Regions from separate parts of the Homo sapiens genome. Here region 2 is linked to region 1. Evidence: promoter capture Hi-C in human tissues and cell types (Jung and others, 2019). All regions are on one chromosome and are shown on one strand. Each heading gives the region's core, a stretch centred on a gene start or on the middle of the fragment in contact. The rest is flanking DNA. Distances are from core to core; before and after follow the strand shown. Region 1 holds the start of ACSF3 (acyl-CoA synthetase family member 3). Region 2 overlaps CDK10 (cyclin dependent kinase 10).

Region 1 (5,608 bases), core at 1,193-3,692:
GCGCTGGTGGGACAGTCTCTGACAGAATTTGCAGGAGAAACCAGTAGGACTCAATGTGGTGTGGGAGGGAAGCAGGGAGCCATAGACTGAACCCCAGGATCGAGGGTGAGATGCAAAGTGTGAGGGTGGGGGCGCTGCTGCGGGGGAGACCTGAGCTCCTCTGGGGCCACATCGGGGTCTGATGTCTCTTGGATGTCCCAGTGAGATGCCAGGTGGGCACTTAGGACCCTCCCTGTCCACATGTTCTAAACTACATTGACGTCGTCTGCCTGGTTGGTGCGGCCACTTTCACTCCCTGCGCTGGATGTTCTGCAGCCCTTCGTCTGCTAATGTCCACGAGTTTACCTGACAGCTGACTTCTCTCTGTTTTCTCTGCCCTCCCTTCCTGAAACTACCGTATTTAGCATATTGGATGCCTGCCTGAGCCCACTGATTTTTTTATCTTTCCTCTCCTGTTTTTCATCTCTCGGTCTTTCTGTTCTATTTCTAGGAGACGTCCTTTAGCCCTTCCCTTAGGGTTTTTACTCAGGCTGTTGTATTCTGACCCCTCCAGCCCCCCTTTATGTTACTGGAACGCTCTTTCTCGGGGCATCTCGCTCTGGACTCATGGGGGCTGTCGCTTCCCTTGTCTCCCTGAGGGTATTAACAGGGGGTGGTTTTGGGGGTCTCTTCACTCTGCACAGCCTGGCTGCCTGCAGTTGTTCTGCTGGTTGTTTCAGCCCACGTCTCTCTGGCTAGAGGCTGTCCTCCAATGTCTGCTAATCCCTGACTGCTCCTGCTTCCCACCTGCCACTATGATGCTGACCAGAGCCGAGGCACAGATGGGACCCCTGCTCATAGGATGACTGGGCCATTTCTCGGAGACTGCACCCTCCCCCCACTGCCACCCTCACAGAGCCATGGCCAAGGACCACGGGAGCTGTCACCCTGTCCCAAGTCCTGTCTCTAGGTGGGTGACGCAGCCTGAGCTCTTCAACTTCCCAGGGATAGAAATTTGCGCACACACGTCCTGGGGCTGAATCCTGATGTTAGACGCCCTCCTTACTCTTCCTACTGCCCTCGTCGGAAACACCATTCAGCCTGCTGAGTCCTGGAAGCAGACAGAATTCTGACACCAGATCAAGCCTGTCCCAGTGGCAGAGGGTTGGACTTGCTTTTTCTGCATGATACCTAGCAGGGTGGCAACCAGAGGCACTAGAAGTTTGGGTTTGTTCTCCCACGCTCTGTGTTACAAACTTCCCCCAGATCCAGCTCCTTCCTCCCAGGAAAACCATCCTCGGGCTCCTGAAGTGCCCTTTCCTGAGCTTTCCAAGGACACAACTGCTGCCCCAGCAATCATCACAAGAGAGGAAGATGGGCATGGAAAATAATACACTTACAAAAAAACTGTGCAAGGTTCTGCAGATAATTTTTTTTTTTTTTTGAGACAGTCTCACTCTGCTGCCCAGGCTGGAGTGCAGTGGCGCAATCTCAGCTCACTGCAGTCGCCACCTCCCAGGCTCAAGAGATTCTCCTGCCTCAGCCTCCCGAGTAACTGGGATTACAGGCACCTGCCACCACTCCCGGCTAATTTTTGTATTTTTAGGAGAGACAGGGTTTCACCATGTTGGTCAGGCTGGTCTTGAACTCCTGACCTCGTGATCTGCCTACCTCGGCCTCCCAAAGTGCTGGGATTACAGGCGTGAGCCATCACACCAGGACGGTTCTGCAGATAATTTGTACTACTGTTTGCCAGTACATGTCTTTGTGTTATTAGTATTCATTTTAGGGGAAAAACCCTCAAATTTCAGCCAACTGGACTTTGTGTTTGGCTTTAAATGTTTTCCGCCACTGTCCATCCAACAGTCTCGCTTCATATTCGTATCCTGGTTCCCAAGTCCCTTCGAGGAGAGATTCTCAAATGCGGTCCGTTTAAAATCACCCAAGAAATACAAAAATTAGACAGGCATGATGGCGGGCGCCTGTAGTCCCAGCTAATTGGGAGGTTGAGGCAGGAGAATCACTTGAACCCGGGAGGCGGAGGTTGCGGTGAGCCGAGATCACACCACTGCACTCTAGTCTGGGCGACAGAGCGAGACTCCATCTCAAAATAATAATAATAATAAGAAAAAGTAACAACAATAATAATAATAATAAAATCACCCAGGAGCTCAGCGTGCAGACCCCCAGCCGCAAAGCCCAGAGAGCCCCTTTTGGGAGGACGGGGCGAGGCCCAGCAATCCGCGTTGGGAGTGGTCCCGCGCGCCGTTCTGATCTGGGCAGCCCTGGGCTAGCGGAGACCACGGCGCCTTGCCTCGGCCACGGCTCACGAGACGCCCGCGGCCCCGACCCCGCCACGACGGGACGGGCGGGACAGGGGAACACGCGCGCCCGGAACCCGCCGCCACGGCGCCGCGCCGGGGGGACGCGCTTGGGCGACGGACGCGCCGCGCCGGGGAAGCTGTTGGGCGCCGGAACTGGTCCGGCCCGACTCACGACCCCGCGGGACCCGGCCGGAACCCGGCCCGACCCCGGCGCGCGCGCGGCGGAGGACGAGGAAGAGTTGTGGCGAGGCAGATCCTGCCCCGTGGCCGCGGCCGTCTCGTAGGTGCGGGCGGCGGGGCCCACGGGACCGCGGCGGGGTCGGCCGGGCGCAGAGCTCTCGGGGGCGCGGGCTCCGGCGCCCGCCCCTGGGTCGCAGCTGGGCTTGAGCCGTGGCCCGTGGCGCGGTCGCTTCCCCGCGAGCCGCCTGGGGCCGGGCGTCGGCCTTCCCGGGACGCCGAGCCTCTCGTGTCCGGTGGGGAGCGGGGCCCCCGCGCGGGGTGCGGGGAGAGAAGCTGTGCGGACGCCGGGCCCGGTGATACCGTCGAGCCGGCGGGGTCCGTGTTCAGGCATCCTCAGAACGAATCGTCTTTGGTTGTGTTTGGAATAAATTCACTTCCATTTCTCATTGGGCTTCAGAAGTCACCCTTGAAGTACTCCCCGTTTTAGTTGTTTGCTGCGTGCACCTTGCTGGGCGCGTGGGGCACAGGTTCACAGCCGGCCTAGCCCCTGAGGGCATGTAGATCTATGAGCAAGCAATGGAGACGTGCGGCCGGCCGTGAAGTATTTGGAAGGTACTGCAGGCAGCCCATTCCCTGGAGAGAGGGAAGGTTTAAAGGGGTGAGGCCCGGTGCAGTCAGGAGTTGATGTTGCTGTCCTGAGTCTAAATTCCACCAGGCAGGCCAGGTGCAGTGGCTCATGCCTGTAATCCCAGCGCTTTGGGCAGCAGAGGCAGGAGGATCACTTGTGGCCAGGAGTTCAAAGCCAGCCTGGGCAACATGGTGAGACCCCTATCTCTACAAAAAAATGTAAAAATTAGCTGGGTGTGGTGGCGTACACCTGCACTTCCAGCTACTGGTTAGGCTGAGGCACGAGGATTTCTTGAGCCCAGGAATCGGAGGCTGCAGTGAGCCATGACAGCACCATTGCACTCCAGCCTAGGTGGCAGAGCAAGACACTGTCTCAATAAATAATAAAACTGAAAAAGAAGAGGTGATATTTGAACTGGGCTTGGAAGAATGATTAGGAATTTGCTAGAAAGGGAACACGTTTAGAGATAGGAACACGAATTGTGTCTGGGGCATAGTTGTTGCTTTCCCATCCTGGGAGGACAGACATTCGTGTTAGGGCCCAAGGCTGAGACCTTGTTGAGGAGGGGGTTCACATGGTGGACCCAGGAGCACGGGTGTTACTACCGGTGGACCCTGGGGACCCTGCGAGCTTTGTAGCGTGAAGCCTGGCTCAGGCTGGTGTCCTCTCCGCAGGTGTTGGAGGACATAAGATGAGGCTTCCCTTGCTCTTGCTCCTTTGGCTCTGAACCATCTCCTCAAGGCAGACAGAAATGGCGGATTAAACTGTGGGCTTGGGATAGTTGTAAGTGTCACCTTTCCAGATGGCATTTTTAAAATAGTATTTTTCTTCCTAAAATGGATATGGGTTTCAAGTGTATTTTTCCTTTTTGGTTTTTTTTATTTGAATGTACTGCTCATGAATGCAATGTGAATGTCTGTTACTTAAAAATGTAATTTTGAAAATAACCCTCCAAACCACAGGTGTGATGCTGAAACGCATCCTGCCCCGCAGGCCGAGCACAGCCCTCCTCTGCCCCACGCTCTCATCGGGGCAGCCGACAGGAGGAAGTGCCGGCATCCACTTCAAACACAAGGTCTGGGGGGGCGGGGGTGTCAGGTGTGGTGGTGAACAGGTCAGGTGTCGTTTTATTCATGTTGAAAGCAGCCCTTCATTTGAATGCGAGTGTCATTCTCATCTAGTAATTTTTGTTGCGAGGCTCCATGGGGAGCACCCTGCTGAGCACGGCGCGGCCGTTTGTCTTCTGCCTGGCCTGTGCCGGGCCATTCGTACATTCTCACGTGAAGCCTGTGAGGCAGGTCTTGTTACTGTGCCATCTTAGCGGTGGGAAGTGAAGGGCTAGGCCAGTGAGGAAATGAGGACAAAGGCAGCAGCCGTTCAAGTCGAAGCCTGTGGTGACTAACTCTGCCATTAACCAGCACTCCAGTTAGGAGGGAAAAGATGCATCCCGCTGCGCTGCATGTGTGTTCCCGAGAAGCCCCAGTGCCTTAGTGGTCTGATCTCAGAACCTGATGGCTAGAACACCGAGAGGTCCTGCCTCCCTCCCCGAGGGCTGGAGAGCCACTGTTTTCAGTGGTTCCAGTACGCCTTCACCAAGGAGGCTGTCCTGGCTCAGGCACCTTTCTCAGCTTCTGACTAGAGTCCTTGCCCAGCCACGTGGTGACGCCGCTGACCTCGGGTTATCAGGGTGCTGCGTAGCAGGGGTATGAAGCTGGCTGAGGGTGGAAGCCCCTGACTGAACTGCATTTGTCTGGTGGGCAGTGTCCCTCCACACTGTGCTCCTGGTGGTGATGGGGAGCCCCACGGTAGAAGGGGTCCCAGTGGTTGAAAGGTGAGGTTCTCTCTGAGGAAGCTGGGGTGCCTCTGGACCGGGAGGTGTGCAGGAAGACCGCGCACAGCCATCTGCCCTGAGTAGGCTCTGTCTGCGTGTTCGAGGCAGGGCTCTGATCCGATGACCGTGAAGATTCAACCTCTGTGCTGAAGAGAACTGATGACTGGGCACTTCATTGTCCCAAGCCTGAGGGACTGAAAAGCTGGTTTGATGGGGCTGGTTCCGTTTTCCACATGCTTGGTGGGAGAATAAATCAGCACCTCGTTGGAGGGGACTTTGTCAGTATTTCTCAAAATTAAAGATGACCCAGCAATGTGACTTCCCGGCATCTGTGCCCTAGACACCCCGAGTGAACACAGCTGTAGGTGCCAGGACTCCCCCCTTCCCTCGGCCGACTCTGGCTAGGCCAGGCCCTTCTCACCCTCCATAGGAAGCCTCCCCACCAGGCCCCCGTCCGTTCCTCCTGCCCGTGGCCTCTCCTCATAGCGCGTGGGCTCTCTGGGAGCTGGGACCATGTCACACGGGGCCAGTCACATCTGTCACCTCCCAGGGGCTGGTGGCAGGAGTGCCCACCCACAGGCAGCGCTCTGGATTCCGCGCAGGAGAACAGCAGTTTCTTCTCAGCCTGCACTTTGAGTTTGCCCAGCCCAGCTGTGCACGTCAGCA
Region 2 (3,784 bases), core at 44-2,543, 600 kb after region 1:
CATTTTTTCTTCCCGTCACTGAGGTGAGAAGAGGTGAAAGCTTCCTTTCACCTGGAAGTCACACGGTCCCTTCAGCTCACATTCCAAGGCCAGATGCCACTGGGTAGCGTTTCATAACTTCCAGGAGGTAGTGATACAGGGATGCTGGGACAGCAGCCTCTGCCACAGATGTATTTTTGTATGTGGGATTGAAAGGGAGTATCTGAGTGGCCGCCTCTGATATTTCTTTCAAAGCATTGGCCCAGTATCGTCACCACCTTTTCTCATCAGAAAAGCCCAAGAGGCCGGGTACGGTGGCTCACGCTTGTAATCCCAGCACTTTGGGAGGCCAAGGCGGGCAGATCACTTGAGGTCAGGAGCTCAAGACCAGCCTGGCCAACATGGTGAAACCCAGTCTCTACTAAAAATAGAAAATTAGGCGGTTGTGGTGGCACCTGCCTGTAATCCCAGCTACTCAGGAGGCTGAGGCCGGAGAATCACTTGAACCCAGGAGGCGGAGGTTGCAGTGAACCATGTTCTTGCCACTGCACTCCAGCCTGGGCAACAGAGCGAGACTCAGTCTCAAAAAAAGAAAAAAAAAGCCCAAACGTGTGGTTGCCTTTCTGTTTGGTGAGCAAGACGTGAGTGGGCTCCCTGGTACAAATTCCATTTGAAATTTCCTCAGTTGTTCCATCAGCTGCCAAATTTCCACACTGGCAACACCCTTCTGTTTCAGCTGGGACGATGCCGGAGTGTGAAGGAGTTTGAGAAGCTGAACCGCATTGGAGAGGGTACCTACGGCATTGTGTGTGAGTGGCCAAGGCTAGGACATGTGGCCGCAGCTCGTGGCTGTGACAGTGTGGGACGAGACTGTCGAAGCAGCAGCCGCGTTGGGGCTGGAAGGGACTCAGACCCTGTGCTCTGAAACAGGGCAGAAACCTGTTCAGGAACTTCAATTCCTGATGTAGTTATCACAAACATTGTACCATTTCTGGGTAAACGTAAGCATCCGGTTGCTAATGCCCATAATCCAAACGTGTCACTGCAGAGTACACAGAACTGTTAGAGAAATAAAATACAGAACTTTCCAGAAGCAGCAGGAGCTGGACATGGTGCTCATGTCTATCACCTCAGCAACTCTGGAGGAGTCACCTGAGCCCAGGTGTTTTTTCTTTTTGTTTGTTTTTGAGATGGGTCTTGCTCTATTGCCCAGACTGGAGTGCAGTGGCATGATCATAGCTCACTGCGGCCTCGACCTCCTAGGCTCAAGTGATCCTCCCACCTCAGCCTCCTGAGTATCTGGGACCACAAGAGTACATAAGCACACCCAGCTAATTTTTAAATTTTTGGTAGAGATGGGATCTCCCTATGTTGCCCAGGCTGGTCTTGAACTTCTGGGCTCAAATGATCCTCCTGCCTCGGCCTCCCAAAGCACTGGGATTACAGGTGTGAGCCACTGCACCCGGCCAAGCCTAGGAGTTTGAGGCTGCAGTGAGCTGTGATCACGCCACTGCACCCCAGCCTTGGCAACAGAGTGAGACCCTGTCTCAAAAAAACCAAAAACACCACACACAACTAAAGGTTATAACAGATGTGAAATTGGCGTAGGTCATTCTGGAAGCTGCACACATTAGCAGGATGTTTTGTAGAGCCATCTTCACACAAAATAAGGTTTGCTTTTTTCTGCATAGAGTACCTTATTTGCTTTTAGGACATTACAAGAGAGCACAAAGCAGTGATCTGCATGCTAAGGAGGACATGGAGAGCCTGGAGCCACAGAACTGAGTGGCTGGAGGCCAGGGTCCAGCACAGAGCAAAGTTGGGCACCCCCTGCCCAGTTCAAATGAGGAAACCCTCCGGGGGAACGCGTCTCGGGCTAGGGGCGTTGCACAGAGTGGGGACTGAGTGTCACTGGGCATGAGGTTGTCAGAGGAAAGAACGGGGACCCCTGTGGCTCAGGGAGAGCCTCCCGTTCAGCGCTAGGGAGCCCACGAGGGGCATCGAGATGATGTCATCACCAATGTGTTTCCATTCCAGATCGGGCCCGGGACACCCAGACAGATGAGATTGTCGCACTGAAGAAGGTGCGGATGGACAAGGAGAAGGATGGTGAGCAGGAAATTGGGGTGTTGGGACCTCGCACTGGGAGGAGGCAGAAGGATGTGAGTTACCTGAAGTTTCCTCAGAGCGACTGCACGGTGCTTGTAGCGGGGGCCGGCCTCTGGGAGGGTTCTGGTGTGGCCCAGCACATCACCCCCAGGTCCACACGCAGCCTCAGCTGTCTGCCAGGAGGGCTCTGCAGTCTCCATCCCCTCCTCCCCCTCCTGTCTGGTGAGGCCACCTCACTGCAGGCTCAGCTCTGCTGTCCCCTCCACCCCCAGCACCTGCCTGTGCAGGCAGGGCCCTGCCATGCCCCACATAGATGTCCACGGTGTTTAGAGAGGTGCCGATTCGTATTTGGTCAAGGAAGAGTTAAAAGTGCTTATTGGGCCGGGCATGGTGGCTCATGCCTGTAATCCCAGCACTTTGGGAGGCCGAGGCAGGCGGATCACCTGAGGTCGGCAGTTCAAGACCAGCCTGACCAACATGGAGAAACCCCATCTCTACTAAAAATACAAAATTAGCCAGGCGTGGTGGCACATGCCTGTAATCCCAGCTACTAGGGAGGCTGAGGCAGGAGAATTGCTTGAACCCGGGAGGCAGAGGTTGCGGTGAGCCGAGATGGTGCCATTGCACTCCAGCCTGGGCAACGAGCGAAACTCCGTCTCAAAAAAAAAAAAATGCTTATTGGGGTCGCCCCAATTCTCCCTGAGGTGGGGACACTGCAGCACCTGCTATCAGGTGTTCGTGAAGCCCAAGAGTGGCTGGGGTTGGGGCTTCCCCGCCATCACTGGGGTGGGGCTCGCTGAGGCCACCTCCCTCCCCAGGCATCCCCATCAGCAGCTTGCGGGAGATCACGCTGCTGCTCCGCCTGCGTCATCCGAACATCGTGGAGCTGAAGGAGGTGGTTGTGGGGAACCACCTGGAGAGGTACGTGGTCTCCTGGTCTGCACATTGGGCCCTAGGGAGCATGTGTCTTGGGCTAGAGGTGTTGCACAGAGCGAGGACTGAGTGTCACTGGGCATGAGGTTGTCAGAGAAGAGATGACCCCACCTCACCGCCTGGCTCAGCCCATTGTCTGAGGGGGACACAGGTTGTCCTGCCCATGTCCCCTCCTGCAGCAGGGGAGGCTCCACTTCCACCCCTTAGGAGAAGGCCGGAGAGTGGCATGCATCTTCTGTTTCTTCCAGCATCTTCCTGGTGATGGGTTACTGTGAGCAGGACCTGGCCAGCCTCCTGGAGAATATGCCAACACCCTTCTCGGAGGCTCAGGTGCGTGGCAGAGGGGCCTGGGGTGGGGGAATGGGCTTCATGGGCCCTTGTGGTGCACATTTATAACGAAACAGGGCACTTGGGGACTTGAAGAGCTGCTGCTGCCTCTGCCTCCACCTCCCAGTGTTTCAGCGAGCTTCAGTGAGGTGGAATTCCTGTGGTGGGGGCATCTGCTGGGAGCGGGCAGCCCCAGGGCCGAGAGCCTTATGAGGGCACTGGTTTCCTGGGCTGTTGGGAGCAGGCAGCCCCGGGGCTGAGAGCCTTCTGAGGGCACTGGTTTCCTGGGCTGCTGGGAGCGGGGAGCCCTGGGCGGAGAGCCTTCTGAGGGCACTGGTTTTCTGGGCTGCTGGGAGAGTGCAGCCCCGGGGCCAAGAGCCTTGTGAGGGCACTGGTTTCCTGGGCTGCTGGGAGCGTGCAGCCCCGGGGCCGAGAG

Evidence for each region. Contacts are between HindIII fragments. The study calls those that stand out against the background at their distance.
Region 2: a contact is called between a fragment that was not itself captured here and the fragment with the promoter of ACSF3 in region 1, in 2 of the 25 tissues and cell types used here (dorsolateral prefrontal cortex and lymphoblastoid cells).

Annotation. Positions count from the first base shown.
Region 1 is chr16:89,091,410-89,097,017 of GRCh38, forward strand. It overlaps ACSF3 (acyl-CoA synthetase family member 3), which reads left to right and starts at 2,443. Exons shown (of 11, transcript NM_001243279.3): 1 at 2,443-2,587. RefSeq lists a silencer at 2,207-2,616 and enhancers at 3,037-3,226, 4,446-4,615. The HindIII fragment of the contact is 24,302 bases long and covers 1-5,608 here.
Region 2 is chr16:89,688,537-89,692,320 of GRCh38, forward strand. CDK10 (cyclin dependent kinase 10) reads left to right here. Exons shown (of 13, transcript NM_052988.5): 2 at 716-788; 3 at 2,017-2,088; 4 at 2,907-3,009; 5 at 3,270-3,351. Among named protein-coding and RNA genes, the nearest start is that of LINC02166, 3.5 kb to the left of the region's middle. The HindIII fragment of the contact is 5,257 bases long and covers 1-3,784 here.